3 separate regions of the Homo sapiens genome follow, and all the other regions are linked to region 3. Evidence: promoter capture Hi-C in 16 types of primary human blood cells and fetal thymus (Javierre and others, 2016). All regions are on one chromosome and are shown on one strand. The core of a region is centred on a gene start or on the middle of the fragment in contact, and the rest is flanking DNA. Distances in the headings are between cores, read along the strand shown.

The links. Contacts are between HindIII fragments. The CHiCAGO score rates a contact against its expected background, and 5 or more counts as called.
Region 1: a contact is called between a fragment that was not itself captured here and the fragment with the promoter of TMEM107 in region 3, in 1 of 17 cell types (neutrophils). The highest score is 5.5, in neutrophils.
Region 2: a fragment that was not itself captured here is called in contact with the fragment with the promoter of TMEM107 in region 3 in 1 of 17 cell types (activated CD4 T cells); the score reaches 6.1 in activated CD4 T cells.

The regions. Positions count from the first base shown.
Region 1 is chr17:8,789,160-8,792,260 of GRCh38, reverse strand. No RefSeq gene overlaps it. Among named protein-coding and RNA genes, the nearest start is that of MFSD6L, 8.7 kb to the left of the region's middle. The HindIII fragment of the contact is 2,963 bases long and covers 1-2,954 here.
Region 2 is chr17:7,322,466-7,325,543 of GRCh38, reverse strand. NEURL4 (neuralized E3 ubiquitin protein ligase 4) reads left to right here. Exons shown (of 29, transcript NM_032442.3): 8 at 71-335; 9 at 564-745; 10 at 1,064-1,149; 11 at 1,274-1,436; 12 at 1,532-1,730; 13 at 1,821-1,897; 14 at 1,981-2,059; 15 at 2,421-2,596; 16 at 2,678-2,809. Among named protein-coding and RNA genes, the nearest start is that of NEURL4, 5.3 kb to the left of the region's middle. RefSeq lists enhancers at 1,240-1,449, 1,191-1,696, 1,697-2,203. The HindIII fragment of the contact is 3,934 bases long and covers 1-3,078 here.
Region 3 is chr17:8,174,803-8,177,781 of GRCh38, reverse strand. TMEM107 (transmembrane protein 107) reads left to right here and starts at 1,402. Exons shown (of 5, transcript NM_183065.4): 1 at 1,402-1,582; 2 at 1,756-1,823; 3 at 1,925-2,025. The coding sequence starts at 1,496. It overlaps LOC105371520 (a long non-coding RNA gene), which reads right to left. Exons shown (of 4, transcript NR_188261.1): 2 at 2,908-2,979. RefSeq lists enhancers at 1,105-1,224, 640-1,251, 1,405-1,454, 1,525-1,614, 1,775-1,824 and 3 more. The HindIII fragment of the contact is 13,203 bases long and covers 1-2,979 here.

The sequences.
Region 1 (3,101 bases), core at 224-2,723, 610 kb before region 3:
TCTCCTTGTGGAGTCAGGACAAAGGACCCTTCCAGCACACTGATGTGAGACAAGACACTGAGCGTAGCCAAGCAGTCAGACTCACCCGAGCTTTGATATCCATTGTTTTTATTAGGGGCTTCATCACATAGGCATGACTCATTGGATCACTGGCCTATGACTCAATCTTCAGCCCTGCTCCTCTCCCCAGAAGTCAGGCCTATATCAAAAGCTCAAAGCCCCAACCTTCTAAATACATGGTTGGTTTTTCTGGCATGGCCAGCCCCCATCTTGAGTCATTCCATTAGCATAAATTGTGTAAGGTCCCATCATGAGTCACCTCATTAGCATAAACTCAAGTGTGGTTGACAGGCCAACCACCAGTAAAAAAGACACTCTTCGACTTGGAAAATTCCAAGGATTTAGAGCCTATCTCCCAGGAACTGGGGACAAAGGCCAAATTCTTTATTACACAGGATAATTAATTTGAAAATCAGCAATGATCTTAAGTGCATTAATAGTTTCTTCCTTTTCATTGCTGAGTAGTATTCCATTGCATGGATATACCACGATTTATCCATTCATTTATATTGTATTATATTACCATACATTTCAATTCCAAACATGTAATTGCTTTCAGTTTTTGATGATTACAAATAAAACTTTTATGAATATTCATATCTAAGTCTTTGTGTGAACACACGCTTTCATTTCTCTTGGGTAAATACCAAGGAGTGGATTGACCAAATCATATGGTAGACATATGTTTAACTTTTAAAGAACTGCTAATAGTTTCCCAAAGTGGTTGTGCCATTTTACATTCCCACCAGCAGGGCATGAGAGTTCCAGCTTCTCTACACCCTCACCAACACTCAGTAAAATCAATCTCTTTAATTTTAACCGTTCTAACAGGCATGTAGTAGTAGAGTTGTTTCTTGGTATCCTTGGGGAATTGGTTCCAAGACCACCTCCTACAGATACCAAATCCAAGGATGCTCAAGTCCCTTCTATATAATGGCATAGTATTTGCATATAACTTATGCACATCATCTTATATACTTTAAATCATTTCTAGATTATTTAAAATACCTAATATAATGTAAATGCTATGTAAGTAGTTGTTATTCCCTACTTTTGCATCTGTATTATTTTTGTTGTTGTTTGGATTATTTTTGATCCATGGTTGGTTGAATCAGCAGGTACGGAGCCCACAGATACAGAGGACAGACTGTATCTCACTGTGATTTTAATTCTCATGTCCCTAATAACTAGTAATGTTGAGCACCCTTTCTCTGTACCGTGCTTTTGAAAATTAATCAGCAGCATAGAAGTACACAAGAATAACAACAGCCTCAGGTGACTATAAGAGCACATTACCTATCAGAATAGTAAATGCTTCAGAGCAGTGGTCTTTGTTTCTAGAATGCTTTAATGGGAGGAAAAAAAAAACAGAACAAAACAAAAAGACTTGATAACTTTGTGTCTTGGATAGTTTTACATACTCACAAGCCTAAAGATATTGAACCAAGTCAAATGATCTCTAGAGGCCCCTTTGACAATTCTTTTTTTTTACATTTTTTATTAGCAATGCTTTTGGAGAAAGAGCTTTTGAGAATTCAAATGTACGCGTGGGGATATGGCCTTTGTAGGAAAATGCTGAGACCACTGACTGCTTTCAAAGTTTATAAAAATGCGGAAGATGATCTTCAGTGCAAATTCCTTCGTTTAAACAAAGTCTGTCCCTGCCACACTGTTTGCCACATGGGTCTCCAGCATGCGGGATGGGAATAGTAATCTTTCTGACAGGCACATCTCTATAGGAAGTCTTTCCTGACCAACACCCTACTTTTCTATTTCTGCTAACTTTGGTTTACCATTCCCCCTCGACTTGGTTTCAAGGAAGTGGCTTTTCACGTTTTAGGGCATATTGTTTCCTTTAATAAGCTGACGAATGTCACAGGGGCTGTCCTCTGAAATATGCATATCAGATTTTTCATGCTGGTCACATTTCATGGATAAAACAACAACAACAACAAAACAGTCACTGGCCTCAGGTTAATTAAACAGATGAACCTGCTTGAGGCAGATTTTCTGCCAGATATCTTCCCAATGTCCCAAATTAGGAAACCTCCTTTCTAATTTCGTCTTCCCTTTACTCCATGACCTGTGATTTTGCTGTCACGAGCTTCCCGAATTCTCTTCACTTTGCCCCTTCTCCTTGTTGAGCCCTGCAGGCTTCTGTCTTTATGCTGGCGGCACCCTGGGGTGAGGTGTTGCAGAGTCAGAGGCTGTGATAGAGGGAAGTAAGTTCAGAGTGAAGGCCCTGGGCTCAAGCGTTCTTCAGGTCACCCTTCCTTCATAAGTATGTACTGAGCAAGGCTGTGATCCTTCAGGGTGCTGGGTGAGTCTTTAGGAACGCGTCTACCACTCCCTCCTGCATAACGTCACCAGATGCCTCCCACATCTTCCCGGGGTAATTAATGTCACCTCCCAATGGCTTTATGCCATTCTGCACATTTTGTTCACAGGGCCGCAATCATTGTTTGGGGATGCACATGTGAACTACCCCCCCCGTCCGATCGGAGTAACACTCAACGGACTCTCTCCCTTGGATATGAGGCCGATGCTACCCACCCTGCCTATTTGTGCAGATGTGAAACCTTGAACTGCACTTTGTTTCTATGACAAAGCCTGCCTGGGAACAATACTGACAATTTAGAAGGAAAGGCCGAACCACAAAACCATGTCCACAAACAGAATGGGACAGGACAACGTAAATGTCAAGTGAGAAGTTTAAATAGTGAGCATTTCTCTCTGGGCAGACAGGACAGCTGAGCGCAGGGACCTTCTGAAAAGACCCTCATGGAGTTTATGAAATAAGCCGGCGTATGGAGGAAGGACTGGGTCGTAAAGTCTTAGACTTCAAGCTGTGACTTTCACTCTATTACCTACTTTACCAGTAGGTCAGTTAAGCTTTACAGAATCAAAAGTAAATACAATTCTCAGCTCCTGATCTTGTAGCTGTTAAAGATATTGAGTTTGACCCTCTGACATGTCTTGGTTCCAGCTAAGAGGAATGTAAATATTGAATGAGCCATTAACCATCATGCTCAGGTTTACTT
Region 2 (3,078 bases), core at 248-2,747, 850 kb after region 3:
CTCCCTGTGTTTGACTTTCTCCCCTCATTCTCCCTGTCCACTCCCACACCCCCGTACCTTCCTGCCACAGGAGTGGCAACCCCCTTGACGCCCCCAGTGGTGTATGGTGTGGTGGACTTGTACGGGATGGCAGTGAAGGTGACCATCGTCCACAATAACAACCACAGTGACCGTCTCCGCCGAAACAACGCCATCCTGCGGGCGCTGTCCCCCGAGGGTGCTCTCCGCCGTGCTGCCCCTGCCGCCCAGGCAGAACCTGAGCGCCTGCTCTTCCACCCCAACTGTGGGCAGAAGGCAGCCATCACCCACGAGGGACGCACTGCCCTGAGGCCCCAGTATGGCCCATGGGGTGGGGAGAAGCCTGAAGAAGGGATTCTAATGGGGGGGGGGGGGCGGGGCAAGGAAGTGGAAGGCAGAGGGAGCCTGGCGGGGGCAGCTTCCTGGAGGTTGAGCTTTAGTTCTTTGGCTTGGGGCAGTGAGTGTTGGCAGGCATTGCTGGGCTAAGCCTTGGCACATTGAGAGCGTGTGTTGGGGATCTGACTCTCCACTTGCTGTGCCCTCAGTGCCACCGATGACTTCAATCACGGCGTGGTGCTGAGCAGCAGAGCCCTGCGGGATGGAGAGGTGTTCCAGGTGCGCATCGACAAGATGGTGGACAAATGGGCTGGCTCCATTGAAATTGGTGTCACCACCCACAACCCTGCCTACCTCCAGTTGCCCTCCACCATGACCAACTTGCGCTCTGGTGAGCTCCCAGGAAGGGCAGGGACAGGATAGGGTTTTGGGGGGAAGCTATCCCCAAAGCCCTGGCACTTGTTCTGCAGCTCCTTTTTCACTTGTCACTCTTGTGACCACTCATTCAGTGGCTAGAGAGTGTCCCGTGGGCAGGGCTGTGGCTGTCTTGGAAGCTGCAGAGTTTTCTTGTCCTGCTCAGGGAAGAAATCTAGTCATCAAAGAAAAGGCAAGGTGGACTGTGGGCTCGGGAGTCCTGTGGGCGCTGCTGTGGCAAGGAGAGGAGCCCTGCATTTCCCCTCATGTCCCCTCCTGCTCCTTGTCCTCCCAGGGACCTGGATGATGACTGGGAATGGGGTGATGCACAATGGGACGACCATCCTGGATGAATACGGGCACAATCTGGACCGCCTCAAGGTGGGAAAGTGGGTGCGCCGCCTGGCGGCCGCAGCGGGCATCACAAACACCGCGGGGCTGATGCAGGACCAGCCCCGGCAGGAACTCTGCCTGACTCCTCACTCCAGCACCCCCTTCTTCCAAGGCAGGGGACACGGTGGGCGTGGTACGGCGGGAGGACGGGACTCTCCACTTCTTTGTCAATGGGATGACTCAGGGCCCTGCTGCCTGGAACGTGCCCCCGGGCGTCTATGCTGTCGTCGATCTCTATGGCCAGGCGGCCCAGGCCACCATTGTGGACGACGTGGGTGAGGGCCGGGCTGGGCTGGGGCTGGGGGTTAGGGTGGCCTTGGGAGGTCTGAGAGACACCTAGAGACCTGATGGGTGATGTCCACTTTTACAGAGGTGGCTCCAGTTCCTGAACCACTCCCTGAGGGGAACAACCAGGTGTCTCCAAGCTCTCCGTCCTCAGGGGCCGGGGGCTCTGACCTGCGCTTCCATCAGCTGCACGGCAGTAACGCAGTCATCACTAACGGGGGCCGCACCGCCCTCCGCCACAACTGTCGCAGCGAGTTTAATGACGCCATCGTCATCTCCAACCGGTCAGTCTCTCAACTTTCATGTCCCCACCTTCCTCCTGCCCAGCCTCAGCCATGCAAGTAGAGCCTCTCTGATCGCCAGTCTCCTGGCAGGGCCCTGCGGGATGGAGAGCTGTTTGAAATTGTCATTCAGAAGATGGTGGACCGCTGGTCAGGCTCCATTGAGGCTGGTGAGGGCCGTCTGTGTGTGTTGGGGGCTGTTGGATGTCTGTGCCTTGGGGATCGGCCTTGACTTACCCCTGCCTCCTCCCAGGAGTGACTGCTATTCGGCCTGAAGACCTGGAATTCCCCAACACCATGACAGACATTGACTATGACACATGGATGCTGAGGTTGGGCTTCCTGCTTTGGGGACCAGCTTGGGGCTGAGTGGAGCTGGCTGGGATCAGGGAAGCAAGGTTTGGGCCTATGGTGGCTGTGGGTAGTGACAGACCTAGGGGATCTACCTGTCCCCTCCCCTTGAATTCTGGGAAGTCCTGCCCAGGCCCACAGGGGCTCAGTCCTCCTTCATCTTAGGCAGTTCTTGCTTTTTCCTAAGGGGATCCCAGGGACAGAGGAGATAGGATTGGGCCTTACACCCAGATCAAGACACCAGCCCAAGACATTGGAGGGTTCTGACAGACAGGGAGTGGGCAGGGGCCAATGTGAAGTTGAAGTTGGCAGGCTGACTCACCCCTTCTGCCATCCCCCCAGTGGTACAGCCATCATGCAAGACGGTAACACGATGCGCAACAATTATGGGTGTGACCTGGATGCGCTGGGCACAGGTGCACGCATTGGCATGATGCGAACTGCCAAGGGCGACCTGCACTACTTCATCAACGGCCAGGACCAAGGCGCTGCCTGCTCGGGCCTGCCTCCGGGTAAAGGTGACTATGTGGCTTTCAGCCTGCCACCCTCAGCCCAGACCACCTGGCTGTCAGGCTTCTGACCTTCCCTCTCCTCCCCAGAGGTGTATGCGGTAGTCGATCTCTATGGCCAGTGTGTCCAAGTGTCCATCACCAATGCCACCGGCCCCATGGACAACAGCCTGGCGACCAGCAACACTGCCACCGAGAAGTCCTTCCCACTGCACTCCCCAGGTGCGGCAGCAGGGCGGGGGCTGGACGGGCTCTGCTTGCCTGCTGTGCACCTGAGGAGTAGGGTTTCCAGGTTAGAGAGGTTCTGCAAAGACGGTTGGCTGGGGTAGCTGCCGGCTCCAGGGAAGGGACAGCCCACGGTGGCAAGCAGCCAGTGAGGGGGAGGTTACACCTGGTACTTAGAGCCTGGACACTTCCCTGCCACCAAGGGGCCAGGACACCATAAGCTGAGCATGCCAGGTTTGGAAATGGGCCTTGCTGTGGTGAAAAGA
Region 3 (2,979 bases), core at 153-2,652:
GCAACCTCCACCTCCTGGGTTCAAGCGATTCCCATGCCTCAGCCTCCCGAATAGCTGGGATTACAGGCACGCGCCACCACGCCCGGCTAATTTTGTATTTTTAGTGGAGACAGGGTTTCAGCATGTTGGTCAGTCTGGTCTCGAGCTCCTGACCTCAGGTGATCCGCCCTCCTAGGCCTCCTAAAGCGCTGGGATTACAGGTGTGAGCCACAGTGCACAGCCCGCTTTTCCCTGTTTGTAGCGCCTATTATCTTACGGATTTATTTGTTTGCATGTCTGTTGTTGATCTCCCTGACTAGAATACCCTTACTAGGTAATCAATAAACATATACAAATATTTGTTGAAGGAATGAGAAATGCCTCTTGGGCTTGTAGTTTAGGCTGGCTAAAAGCACTGAGATGGGGAGTGGGGAGTAGGAAGAGATTGTTCTCCTGGGAGATGGGCCGGGAGGTTCCTTGAGGATGGGACTTGACTCAGCAATTAAAGAACTTTCAGATCTGCAGGGACCTGCGCTGAGGCCCAAAGGTCATGAGGTCGCCGATGATAAGAGCTTCTTGGACTGTAGCTGGGCAATGTCGGAGGCCCAGCACCTCCAAGGGACAAAGAAATCTGAGTTGAGTTTCCCTTCCAGCCGGCTCCAAGCCTCCCAGAGACGCAGGGACTGTCCCATTCCCTTCGTCCACTCCCACTCTTTCCAGCCACCTTGCTCTGCTCTTATCCCCATGCTAGTTTAAGGACGCTGGCCATTTTTTGCACTCTGCAAATCCCTCACCAAACTGAGCAAAGTAGTCTGAAAGAAATCAGTCTTCCTCAAGGAAGGTTCAGGCCTGGGGTCCTCAGACAACCAGGGGCTCCGTGACAATCTGTGACTGCAGAGCAGTCCAGGAACACCGGCCTCTCCAGGTTCGGGTCCCTTGTTTCTCAGGCCCAGCTTGGTGGGAAGCTAAAGGCATGCAGAGGAGGGGAAGGGGAGCGGGTCTGAGTCTTCGGCATGGCGGGGAACTCAGCCCGGCGTGGTGGTGGCAGCGGTCTCAAGTGATCCACAACTGGGCAGCGTAGCTGGGGCTGGGGGCCGCTCCCGGCGTGGGCAACAGCAGAAGCATTGGTGTCCCCAAGCTAGGCCAGGGTGGGTTTCCGTTCATCCGCCCTGCGTGGGCAGATCGGGCGCTGCGGGGCTGTGCCACCTCGCACCCTCTGAGGAACAAAGGGCCTGGCTGCGCGCGGGTACCCAGCCGTTAGGTTAGAAGCGCCTTCGGGTACCCCTGACCTTCGCTGGCCCTGAGAGACCCGCAGCAGCCGGAGAATGTACTGCTCGCGAGGATTTCCGAGAACGCGGCGCCGAGCCCGCGTACACGGTTACCAAGGCAACTGGGCGGTGCCTGAGCGGGCGGGAAGGAGGCGTTCGTCTAGATTTGTCGGCTTGCGGGGAGACTTCAGGAGTCGCTGTCTCTGAACTTCCAGCCTCAGAGACCGCCGCCCTTGTCCCCGAGGGCCATGGGCCGGGTCTCAGGGCTTGTGCCCTCTCGCTTCCTGACGCTCCTGGCGCATCTGGTGGTCGTCATCACCTTATTCTGGTCCCGGGTAAGACCCACGGCTGCACTCAATCCGTCCCCATTCCCATCTCTGAGTGGTCCTAGTCCTACCCTGCCCCCTCCCAGTGTCTTACCCTCTTGGGTTTTCTTGTTTCCCGCCGCCCCCAGGCCTGCCCTGCAGCCTGCCCCTTTTTCACTTCTCTTCCTGTGCCCTGCTCCCAGGACAGCAACATACAGGCCTGCCTGCCTCTCACGTTCACCCCCGAGGAGTATGACAAGCAGGACATTCAGTGAGCTCTTGGGACGGGGTGGCCAGAACGAAGAGGTGGTGGGAGTGGAGGGGTCTTAGAATAAGTCCAAAGGCCTGGGCCAGTCCACTTCCTCTCTGCAGGCTGGTGGCCGCGCTCTCTGTCACCCTGGGCCTCTTTGCAGTGGAGCTGGCCGGTTTCCTCTCAGGAGTCTCCATGTTCAACAGCACCCAGAGCCTCATCTGTATCCTTTCTGCCTGCCCACCTTTCCCACACGACCCACTTCTATCAGGACTCCCTTCAGCCACCTGACACAATAGTGTCTGCTGTAGCCAATCCTTCCAGTTCAAAGATCTTCAACGATGTGCTAAATCCTGCTGTTTACTAGGCACTTAAAATCCCAAAATGAGAGTAAAATACAGTTTTTGGCCAGGCATGTTGGCTCACGTCTGTAATCCCAGCACTGTGGGAGGCGCAGGCAGGAGGCAACATAGTGAGAACCCAAGTCTACAAAAATAATAGGAATAATAAAAACCCCACCGTTTCTTTTTACAATGAGGAGGAGGTAGATACAAATCTGTAATTCAGTGTGATAAGCACTGTGCTATAGAAGTGTGTGAAGATAGAAAGCACAGGCAGGGCGCGATGGCTCACGCATGTAATCCCAGCACTTTGGGAGGCCGAGGCAGGTGGACCACCTGAGGTCAGGAGTTCGAGACCGGCCTGACCAACATGGTGAAACCCCCGTCTCTACTAAAAATACAAAAATTAGTCGGGCGTGGCGGCGCACTCCTGTAATCCCAGCTACTCAGGAGACTGAGGAAGGAGAATTGCTTGAACCCGGGAGGCAGAGGTTGCAGTGAGCTGAGATCGTGCCACTGCACTCCAGCCAGGGCAACAGAGCAAGACTCTGTCAAAAAACAAACAAAAGATATAAAGCACAATGGGAACTCAGAAGAGGCAACGGAAGCGAGCACTGGGAACTCAGAAGAGGCAAAGGAGATGAGGCACATGGGTCAGAGAATTGTGGACCAGGAGGACCAGGACACTGGAGGCTGATTCCAGCGCATATTAAGTCGCTGTCAGCACTCCTTTGTGGCATAGCAGAAGGAGAGCCTACTCTTACCTCTCATCTGAAGGATCCAGGCTGGCCCACAGATAAGGGGTAGGGTAGCCTGAGGTCCGATCTGTGCAGTCA